Regions from separate parts of the Homo sapiens genome. Here all the other regions are linked to region 1. The links are contacts of gene promoters, found by promoter capture Hi-C in blood cells and fetal thymus (Javierre and others, 2016). All regions are on one chromosome and are shown on one strand. Each heading gives the region's core, a stretch centred on a gene start or on the middle of the fragment in contact. The rest is flanking DNA. Distances are from core to core; before and after follow the strand shown. Region 1 holds the start of NDFIP2 (Nedd4 family interacting protein 2). Region 2 holds the start of LOC105370274 (a long non-coding RNA gene). Region 3 overlaps NDFIP2 (Nedd4 family interacting protein 2).

What was found. Contacts are between HindIII fragments. The CHiCAGO score rates a contact against its expected background, and 5 or more counts as called.
Region 2: a contact is called between a fragment that was not itself captured here and the fragment with the promoter of NDFIP2 in region 1, in 1 of 17 cell types (activated CD4 T cells). The highest score is 13.6, in activated CD4 T cells.
Region 3: a contact is called between a fragment that was not itself captured here and the fragment with the promoter of NDFIP2 in region 1, in 1 of 17 cell types (activated CD4 T cells). The highest score is 11.4, in activated CD4 T cells.

Annotation. Positions count from the first base shown.
Region 1 is chr13:79,479,356-79,483,187 of GRCh38, forward strand. NDFIP2 (Nedd4 family interacting protein 2) reads left to right here and starts at 1,800. Exons shown (of 8, transcript NM_019080.3): 1 at 1,800-2,169. The coding sequence starts at 1,849. It overlaps NDFIP2-AS1 (NDFIP2 antisense RNA 1), which reads right to left and starts at 1,876. Exons shown (of 3, transcript NR_046685.1): 1 at 1,797-1,876; 2 at 481-575. The HindIII fragment of the contact is 10,753 bases long and covers 1-3,832 here.
Region 2 is chr13:79,428,948-79,432,779 of GRCh38, forward strand. LOC105370274 (a long non-coding RNA gene) reads right to left here and starts at 391. Exons shown (of 4, transcript XR_942112.2): 1 at 169-391; 2 at 33-76. The HindIII fragment of the contact is 1,578 bases long and covers 886-2,463 here.
Region 3 is chr13:79,525,998-79,529,829 of GRCh38, forward strand. The region is part of intron 2 of NDFIP2 (Nedd4 family interacting protein 2); the gene reads left to right. Among named protein-coding and RNA genes, the nearest start is that of LINC01068, 39 kb to the right of the region's middle. The HindIII fragment of the contact is 5,984 bases long and covers 1-3,832 here.

The DNA of each region.
Region 1 (3,832 bases), core at 550-3,049:
ATCTATTTGAGAAACAGATGAACACATGAATGATTAATGAAAACACATATGCATATAAAATTAAGTTCTAAATAAATCTTATAGATCGTAAGTGATATAAGGATCTAATTTCAGTTTGCTGATACTGGCTGTTGTTTTGGTCATCGAGAGGCAATACCATTTGGAGTGAAATTGTGAGAGTGAGCGTTTGTACCAGTAATACCAATAAAATGGCATATGTTTATTGGCTTAGAAACTAAAATACATTAAGATCAAAACAAGGCAAGTTTAACAATATTTAAGTATGAGATATCACTGCCTCTTATTGTTAGCACAGTAATGCTTTATGCTATTAGACATGTCAAAACGGCACAAATAGGAAGAGTTGATGAATGCTTTAAAAAGAACTATGAGGAAGGCTTACATTTTTTAGTTGTCAATCTCTCAAAGAGTTTCTGTTTTTATTCTATCTTGCTATTTTAACCAGTTGATTAGGCTCACCCAGTGGCAGTCTTCATTTCAAGGATCTCCTCTGGACATTCATGAAGGAAATAAATGGGGCTCCAGATCCCTTTCCTTCCCTTCAGGGCGCTCCACTGTAAGATCATTTAGGGAAAATGTGGTGTTATGTTAAAAACATAGCTGGGCCACATCAAGCAGCATCATAGTTTTTAGGGTATAGAACGTTGGTCTTCAGGTTAAAAGGTACTTTTCGCTGCTCTGTCATACTCTTCTACTTGCTAGAGAAATATGCTTTATGCCGTGTCATGTGTGGTTAACCAGACAGTGAGATACTACTAACAGTGCTCCCAAGTGATTCCTTGCTGTTAAATCAATTGGAATTATTGAGTATTACCACAAAATAATCCTATCTGATTTCATTACTTTCTTCTAACGTCCTTCCAGTAACCTAGAACTCTAGAGACCTCTTTCTTTGAGAGTTGTCTGGAGAGTCCGTTGGATTTTTAAATCTCTTATTACCAAAAAGTGGAAAAAAGAGTTTAAAAAGTAACCAAAGAGCTAGTGCCTGTAGTCTCAGCTACTCCAGAGGCTGAGGCAGGTGGATAGCTTGGGCCGAGGAGTTCGAGGCTACAGTGAGCCATGACTGCGCCTGCTAACAGCCACTGCACTCCAGTCTGGGCAATATAGTGAGACCCCATCTCTAAAAAAACAACAAACAAAAACAAAAATTACCCCACAGAAGAATTTCAGGGCAGTGGAAATACTCTGTAGGATACTATAATGATGGATACCTGCCATTACACATTTGTTCTAACTCGAGGAGTATACAACAACCTGAGTGAACCCTGAGGTAACTATGGACTTTGAGTGATGATGAGGTGTCAATGCAGGTTCATCAGTCGTAACACATGTACCACTCTGAGGGGGGATGTTGATAATGGTGGGGGGTTATGCATGCGTAGGAGCCAAGTGTATATGGGATATCTCTGTAACTTCTCAATTTTTCTGTAAACTCTAACTACTCTATATTAGTCTTTAAAAAATCGCTTATCTTACGAATGATTTTGAATAAGCGTTTTGGGAATGTTCTAGAGATGAATCTCCTCCCCATGTCCTACGCTGGGTGAGGAAGTGTCGGGTACCCGGGCGACCTGTCCTCAGGTGTTCTAGGAACGCGGCCCCATCCCTTGTCAGCCTCTGTCTCTGTGTGGTGAGAAGGCGCACTGGCTCGTGCCTGCGCGAAACTCGCGCACACAGAAAAGACCAATCAAGGACGGGTCATTCCCGCCCCCCGCGCGCCTTTTGCGACCGCCCACTCGACAGGTTGACAACCTAGACAGCTCCCCCGGACTTGCCTTACTTTTCCATCTCCTCCCACCCAGCTATACCCTCCCACTGGCGGCGCGGATGGCACGCCGGCGGAGCCAGCGAGTCTGCGCGAGCGGTCCGAGCATGCTCAATAGCGCGCGCGGCGCCCCGGAGCTTCTCCGCGGAACCGCGACCAACGCGGAGGTCTCGGCGGCCGCTGCGGGAGCCACAGGAAGTGAAGAGCTTCCGCCGGGAGACCGCGGCTGCAGGAACGGAGGCGGAAGGGGCCCTGCGGCGACGACGTCGTCGACGGGGGTGGCCGTGGGAGCTGAGCACGGAGAAGACTCCCTCTCTCGGAAGCCGGATCCCGAGCCGGGCAGGATGGATCACCACCAGCCGGGGACTGGGCGCTACCAGGTGGTGAGTTCCCGGCCTCCTGTGCCTCCCGGGACTGCCTCCCGCCGCGGCGTCCCGAGAGTCCCTTTCCTCAGGTTATTCCCGGAGGAAAAGCTGTGGCTTTTTTTTGTTGTGTTTTGTTTTGTTTTTTTGGATCTTCTGGCTGGAGCTGCTTCACTCGCCTCACCTGCGCACTCCTGCCTAGGACTCCTTCGAAACCCTTCTCTCTCGCCCCAAGTCTGCTTAGCTCCTCACCCGCACCCTTAGCCCCGCTGTGAGACGCCCTCCCTCCACACACCTTACAACTTGTATCCGTTTTAATTTCTCACTTTATCATTTTCTTATTCTCTGACTCAGTCACTCCTGAGACATTCTAGTCGATTGTCTACTGGAAATGGGGCTGACTTCACATACCTGCCCGGAAGGTGATCGCCGTCATAAATGGGGTGGGTGAGTAGGTGGGTGGAGGTGTAAGTACTGCGTGGGGTGGGATGTGGATTTGGCAAAAATGTGGGTTAGGAATTGTGGAACTGTAGAGAAAGACTAGCCATAATGCTGATCTTGTCTCTCTGCTCGTTAACCTTGTCATTTTGTCCTTTTCCATTATGTTAGTATTAAAAATGACTGTATTTTTTGGTAATCCCCACTTTTTCTTTCTTTCTTTCTTTCTTTTTTTTTTTTTTTTTTTTTTTTTTGGTTAGAGGGGAAACAGAGGTAGTTTTAGTAGAACAAATTCTAATCTTGTTTGAAAAATTATTTTTCGTTAAATACAAGGTTTTCCAGCTTAACTGTGTAAACTTTGGTAACTATGTTGAAAAAAGTGAAATGTGTTCCTCTATATTTTCAGTGTCAATTTTTAAATATATTTTTCTTTGTGTATTCTGGTGGTGACGTTGGAGATTCCTGTTGTAAACCTTAGTTAAAGATGGACTGAGCAATAGTTGACTCTGCTGTTGTGCTGTTGCAGCTAGGTAGCATGTCATTCTACAAACTTTCAGCCCATTTACTGAGGGAGAGGAGAAAAACAATACATAGCACTGGTGATGCAGTTTATGGTTTATAAAATTTTACAAATTTAGGTATGTTAGTCCCAGGTTTCAACTTTCAAATCTATTTGCACATGTAAGACAGGTTATAAGCCAAGACTTTCTATTAATAAGTACATTTTGGCAAATATGAAGGAACTGTAAGATGAGATCCTAAAGTATGTAATTTTGCATTTTTCTAAGATAAAAGCTCATGAGGCTTCCATTTTCAATTGGTTTGCATTCCTTAAAACCTACAAAAGGTCCATATTCCGAATTCTTTGAAAATTTATCAGCTTTTCTCAACAACTTGGGAAATACTGTTTCTCCCAGTATGGAAAGCGTTTTTCAAGTTGTCAGTGTACACCCTTTTGATGGTTTGAAAGGCATTTCTAGGTTTGTAAATGTTAGCAAAAATAAAATGATATAAATATTGAATAATATCAGCAGTGAAACTTGTTTCATTTTTCCTACAGACGTCACTACCCAAAACACTGTTAATTTATGTAGCTCTCAGTTTTAAGATATTTGTTTTCCCAACAACTCCTTTCAAAATAAATGGGCATATTTTATTGCTGCCCCCTCCCCTCGTTTTTTTCAAACTGACGATGTGTCCTACATAGACTTTGAATGTTCCTTGAGAACAGAGGGCAAAAATCAGT
Region 2 (3,832 bases), core at 425-2,924, 51 kb before region 1:
AGACATTTAAAACAGCATAAAAAGAATCTTACCTCATGCCAAGATATTCAAAAATTTAGGTGAAAAGGACAATTTCCTAGAAAAAATAAGGAAAAATTAGAATTCTGAATAGAACTAGAACTGACTAAAAGATTGAATCCATAATTAGAAATCTATCCACCAACTTACTCTCTGTGACACAAATGCAATGTATCCAATATCCACTTTACCCTCGATAAAATACCATCCTTCCATGGTAATGGAATGTTTAGCTGAGCACATTACACTTAATAAGTGTGACAAAAGAGTGAATAAGGCACTATGATATGTAGAAGTGTTATGATTATAGTTTTGTTGTCATTAACATGAGTTCCTTATTTGTTTATATTATGTCTTGATAAAATTTACATATAGTGACATGCACATTTCTTAAGTGTACTATTCCATGAGTTTGAACAAATGACTAACCTGAGACAGAAAATACAAAAAAATACCATCACCACAAAAGTTGCCTCATGTTCCCTTCACAGTGAATGCCCACCCCTCCACCCATAGACAACCACTGTTCTAAAATAGAATCTGTAAATAGAATCATACAGTATGTACTGTTTTGCATAAGCTTTCTTTCACTCAGCATTGTTTTAGAGATTCATCCATGTTGTATATATCTGTATTGCATTCATTTTTATTTTTGAGTAGTTTCCATTGCATGAATATACCAACATTTTATCCATGCTCTTGTAGATACTGTTTTGCTTTAAGAATTAAGAATAAAGCTGCTACAAGCATTCTTGTACATATCTATTTATACATATACATTTTTATTTCTTTGGTGTAAGGTTTAGTTTATATTTATTTGAAAATATGTGTATTTCTTATTTTTGAAGGATCTTTTCCATGGATATAAGCTTTATAGTACTTTTCTTCCAGCCTTTCAAAAGTGTTGTGCCACTGTCTTTTTGGTCTCCACTGTTTCTGAAGAAAAGTTGGCAGTCACTCATATCATGATTCTCCTATATGTGATGTGTCATTTTACTCTGGCCACATTCAAGATTTTCTTTTTCTCTTTGATTTGCAGCAATTTGATTATGATATTATTTTCTTCATATTTTTCTAGTTGAGGTTGTCTGAGTTCTTGATTTTGTACATTTATGTTTTTTAACAAATTATTAAGTCAAATATTTTTTCAGGTTCATTCCCACTTGCTTCTCTTTCTAGAAATCTAATTTACATATATTAGATTTTTTTCAATTGTCTCACAGTACCCTGAGGGTTTTTTTTTTTTCAGTTTAATTTACAGCTTTCTTTCTCTCTGTTTCTCCGAGTAGATAATTTTGATTGCTGTATCCTCAAGTTGAGTGACTTTCATCATCTTTAAACTGCTGTTAAGCCCACACAGTATTTTTTAAATATCAAATATTTTTTTTTAGTTTTTTCTCTGATATTTCCTATTTGTTCAATCATTATGAGCATATTTTCTCTCACATCCTTGAGCACAGCATAACAGCTGCTTTAAAATCCTCTGCTAATCCCAACATCATGAGGTTAGTCTTCATTGATTGTCTTTTCTTGTAAGTATGGCCCATATGTAGTAATTTTCTAAGTGTTCTTGTAAAAATCATATTGTAGAGACTTTGGATTCTATCATATTTCTTGGAAGATTATAAAATTTTTAAATTAATAAACTTTATTTATTAGAGCAGTTTTAGGTTCACAGCAGAATTGATCAGAAAGTTGAGAGACTTCCCATATACTCCTGTCCCCACACACATAATCTCCCCAACTATGGACATTTCACACCACATTAGAACATTTGTTACAATTGAGCTTACACCGACACATTGTTATCACCCAAAATGCATAGTTTACACTAGAACTCACTCTTGGTGTTGTACATTCTATGGATTTTGACAAATATATAATGACATTTATTCAGCATTGTAGTATCATACAGAATAGTTTCACTGCCCTAAAAATCCTCTGTGTTCTGTCAATTCATCCCTCCCTCTCCACAACTTTTGGCAACCATTGATCTTTTTTGGTGTCTTTAATTTTGTCATTCCCAGAGTGTCATATATTTGGAATCATACAGTATGTGTAGCCTTTTCAGATTGGCTTTTCTCACTTAGTAATATGCATTTAAGGTTTCTCTATGTCTTTTGATGACTTGATAGCTAATTTCTTTCTAGTGTTGTATCTCATCTGTTGCCACTTTTTTTCCTTTAAGTGTTATATCCAACTTCTGCCTGATTTTAGTTACTCTCCAGTTCATTTAGGTAGTTGTTTTTAAAGTAATTTTAAAAATCAGAATGTATGTTGAATGGTTATTAGATGTCAGTACAGATAATTGGGCTTAGTGAAAAAGATTTAGATACAGGAAGCCCCAAGTAACTGACTAAATGATGATGGCCTAAAATGGGACAGTAATAGTAAACATAAACAGAAGGTAAAAAGTTGAGGATCTCTACAAGCTCATATTGGCAAAGCTTTGTGATTCTAAACTGCCACACATTGACCTATCTAAATTGTTTGTCATAGTATGGAAAAGATGAGATTAAAAAGTTGAGGTAGTAGTGGCCAGCATTATTGATTGCTTCTCACCTAAAATTCATAAATGAGGAAAAATAAAGAGAAATATCTATCATTTTAAGCAAAGATATTCTTATATAATTTCTCCTTATATTACATCCACACGAAATAAACCAAAGTATTTCAGGAAGGACCATTGATGTCTGATTGCAGAGATGTATCATATTATCTAGAAATGTTGTCAGCTCCTAGAAATAGAGACCTAACTACAATGACTTAAATGTCTAAGAGTATATTATTTTACAGAAAAAATGTTCAGAAATGGGTGATCCACACTGATAAGGAGTTCCACAAAGACAACAGGAATCTAGGCCTAGGCCTTTCTTAATACATGTCTTTCATCCTCAAGGTTATAAGATGGCCACTGGAATTGCAACTGATGACAGTGGTGGCCCATCTGGAGGGGCCACTGCCATGATGCTGGCCGCAGCAGGGGAGGCTCAGCCAGGGCTGCATGCTCCACAGAGCGGACAAGAGCTGGCAACAGGCAGAAGCCCTTCTGAGTTGGCAGAGTGAGGGAGCCTCATGCTCCCCGGTGCAGCTGTGGCTGCACAGCAGCAGCTGTGGACCTGGGCATCTCTGCACTCTCGGGGGCCAGGAAGTTCCTGTGCCCCCACAGGCTCGGAAGTGCCTGCTCCCACTGCCTGGCCTCTCCAGACTCCTGGCCCCTGCTCCAATTTTGGAGCAAGGCTGTGGCCTAGCCCAGACACTGTCTTGACCTGGCTGGGTGTGAGCATGCTCTGGGCAGTGCTGACACCAGCCACCTGCCACTTGGGCCCCCTCTGGACTTTGGGCTCCGACAAGCATGGGAGGGAGGCCAAGGAGGGTTAAGGGCAGCTCTGCATGGGCCTGTAGGCACCCGTAGGCATGAACAGCCTCTGCTGTTCAGGGATGGCAGGTTGATGGCAGCAGGAAGCAGACAGGCTCCTGGGAGAAACGGGGCGGGTTCCCAGTGAAGCCCCACCTTCAAGCCAGGGATGGCCTGAAGCCTGGGGGCTTGGCTGACAGTTCTGTGGACTGGAGTGAGAATATATGGTACATTTTCTGGGCCCACCCATGGCTGCCTATGGACCAATCAGCATGCACTTTCTCCCCTCTGAAGCTCGTAAAAACCTCGGACTCCACCCGACTTGGCAGATGACCGGACAACCTGCTTGCGCAGAGGAGCTACCCACTGAAGGTCTCCTCTGAGCTTTTCTGGCACTCAATAAAGCACCTCTTTGCCTTGCTCACCCTCCAGAATCTGCATACTTAATTCTTCCTG
Region 3 (3,832 bases), core at 719-3,218, 47 kb after region 1:
AGTTTTAGCAATATTAGTGAGATCTATAACTTATGCTCTTAGCAGATGGAGAGAAGAGGTGGAGCTGCTAAAACTTCAGACAGGAGATGCTGGTAGTATGACTAAGGTGCTGGTGGTGAAGAGTATGTGGATTCAAGCAATATGTGGGAAGTAAAAATCAATGCCTTGGTGACAGATTGGATAAGGATGAGGGAGAAGGGGTTAAGAATGATGCCCAAGTATTACTGAAAAGGAACAGGTTTGGAATGAAGATCAAAATGTTATTTTTTGGCCATGTTGAATTTTAGGTGCCTTTGAGAACTAAAGAGGATATATCAAATAGGCAGTCAAGTGATAACAAATAGACCCACATCAAATAAGCCTGAAATTCAGAGGAGAGGTTTGGGCTAGAAATAAATGTTGTAAATCAACTGTGTATAGTTGGTAGTTGAATTCTTAATCCATGAATGAAATAGCAAGGAAGAGAGTAGAGAGGAGGAAGAAGTTGTCTATGCTGAGGAACTACAACATTTAACAGTGAGTAGGGGAATGTTAGCAGGTCAACAAAAGAGAAGCTGGAGAGTTATGAGAAACACTAGGATAGAGTCATCCAAGGACTTTCAGGAGAATGAAGTTAGATAAAGGGTAACACAAGAACCTTGAAGACTAGCAACACAAGTAAAGAAGAACTATTAGGCAGGTAGGAGAGGACTCTGAAAAGAATATTCTAGAAGCCAAGAGAGGAGAGAATTTTAAAAAGAAGTGGCTGGTCAAGAATTTAAAAAGATTATACCTAGCACTTACTGTGTGCTTACTGCATACCTGCCCTTTCTCCCAAGTTCTTAGGTATATAGCTCATCTGATTTTCCAGCCATCCTGAGTAAATCACATCTGTAAAAATGAGGTTCATTTTACAGAGGAGAAAACAATCATGGAGAATTAAATAACTTGCCTGTGTTCACATAGCTTCTCAGTGGTAAAGACAGAATTCGAACTCAGATGTATCTAATTCTAAAGTCCACAGTCATGTTTTATAATTGCGGTGTCCTGTGATTTTGGCTATTTGAAGATCACTGGTGACTTTTGCCATAATGGTTTCTTTGGAGTGTTACAAATAGAAACCTAGCATATAATGGGTTAAAAAGAGCACAGGTAGAGAGGAAGCAAAGACAGCAAGTGACTTTAATAACTAACAAATGGAAGCATCACACATGCTCAAAATAGGGGAATCATTAAATACATTTTCAAATGATAGTATTTTTAAATATTGCATAAACATTAAAATTAGGTTTTTTGAAGGCTGTTTACTGATATCACACACTTTGAAATAGCAAATTTAAAAAGTAGAATATAAAATGACATATATGATGTGATCCCCATTATTTAAGAAATAGATGAACATTTCCACGTAAAGGAAATTCCAAAATATGTTAAAAATAATCACTTAGTCTGGATGGTATAGTAATTGGGTTGTTTTCACTTTCTTTAAAGATGGTCATATGCTGCATAACAACATTTTGGCCAGCAACAGACTGCATGTGTATACAATGGTGCTGAAAAATTTCTGTCATCTAGTGACATGGTAGCTGTCGTAAGGTTGCACTACTCGGTGTTTGTGGCAGTGTTGGTGTAAACATATCCAATACTCTGTCGGTTGTGTACAAGTCTAACACATACAATTATGTACAGTATATAATACTTGATAATGGTAATGACTATATTACTGATTTGTATATTTATTAATCTTAATTATTATTTTAGAGTGTATTCTTTCTACTTATAAAAAACAAATTAACTGTAAAACAGCCTCAGGCAGATCTTTTCAGGAGGTATTCCAGAAGGCATTTGTTATCATAGGAGATGACAGCTCCATGTGTGTTATTGCCCTTGACGACCTTCCAGTGGGACAAATGTGGAGGTGGAAGACAATGATATTGACGATCCTGACCCTTTGTAGGCCTAAGCTAGTGTGCGTGTTTGTGTTGCAGTTTTTAATAAAAAAGCTAGCTATGCACGGTGGCACATGCCTATAATTCCAGTACTTTGGGTGGCTGAGGTGGGAGGATCACAGCCTAGGAGTTTGAGACCAGCCTGGGCAACTTGGCGAAACCCTCATCAACAAAAAATACAAAAATTAGCTGGGTGTGGCAATGCACACCCGTAGTCCCAGCTGCTTGGGAGTCTGAGGTGAGACAATTGATTGAGACTGGGAAGTTGAGGCTGAAGTGAGCTATGTGCCACTGCACTCCAGCCTGGGTGACTGAGTGAGACCTTGTCACACAAAAAAAAGTTTAAAAAATTTAAAAAATAGAAAAAAGATTGTGGAATAAGGATATAAAAAAGAAAATATTTTTGTACACTGTACAATGTGTTTGTGTTTTAAGCTGTGTTCTTATAAAAGAGTCACAAAGTTAAATTTAAAAGTATATAAAGTAAAAATACAGAAAGCTGAGATTTATTATTGAAGGAAGAAAAATATTTTAAAATAAATCTAGGGTAGCCTAGGTGTACAGTGTTTATAAAGTCTACGGTAGTGTACAGTAATGTCCTAGGCCTTCACGTTCACTCGTCACTCACTCACTGACTCACCCAGAGCAACTTCCAGTCTTCTAAGCTCTGTTCATTGTAGGTGCCCTATCCAGGTCGGCCACTTTATAATATTTTAGAACATATTTTTACTGTACTTTTTCTATGTTTAGATGTATTTATATAACACAGATACTTAACATTGTGTTGCAGTTGCCTAGAGTATTCAGTACAGTAATATGCTATACAGGTTTGTAGTCGGTGAGCAATAGGCTATATACCATATAGCCTAGTTATGTAGTAGGCTCTACACTCTAGGTTTATATAAGTACACTCTATGATGTTCCACAAAAACTAAATTGCTTAACACATGTCTCAGAACATATCTGTGTTAGTAAGTGATGCATGACTGTATTTTAAACATGAGCTCTGCTAGATTTTGCAGAGATTATATTCTCCATTAGGTCACTTTTTGGCTAGTTTTTATAGATCTGAGTAACATAAATAATAATACGTGACATTTGTGTAATGCTTCACAGTTTACAGAGTCCTCTTGAATACTCTTCTATTTTATCCCATAATAGCAAGTAACAGCCCTGCTGTGTCAGTTTTATGGATGAGAAAGTGGAGCTTCATAGTGTTTAAGTGATTAGCTTGAGGTCACACAACTTCTAAGAGGAGGATTTGGAGCTGGAGCTTGCCAGACTTTAAATCCTCTGGTTGAGAACCACTCTTTTAAAAGGGTAGATAAAAATAAGTAAAATTTAAAAGTGAAAATTAAAGCTGTAGCAATTGAGTTTTCCTACCCAACTTTCATGTATTAGTGGTAGGGATTTTTTTTTTCTATCTTGAGTATTAAAACCTTTCAGAAATTTACATTCTTGTTATTATAAAAGATCACATCTCCTTGGATAATGTGTGCCATTGTTCCAGTTTTTAAAATTTACAGTTTTAATGTTACTGCCTTAAAATTTGTAAACATTGTTTTTACTTAGATTTTGCTTCTACTCTTTTAAAACTAAAGAAATCTGTTTACTTGACCACTTACGTTTTTACATCCTGATAATAAATCTTTTCTAAGAATTTGACTCTTGTCTCTTGTGTTTGGTAACATTCAGTATTATACTGCTAGTACCAATTCCATGTGATTAGATTAAAAATGACCTAACTTCAGGTCCTTAGCTCTTATTGATAGCACTAAAAATTGTTTTAAGACCTATATGCATGAAAATACAGTAGAAGTATTGCTAGAGTAAAATGTATTTTTAGGTTGAAAATGCAAGAAATTCTGTTAGACAAAATTGTAAACAAATGTAAAAAAATAAAC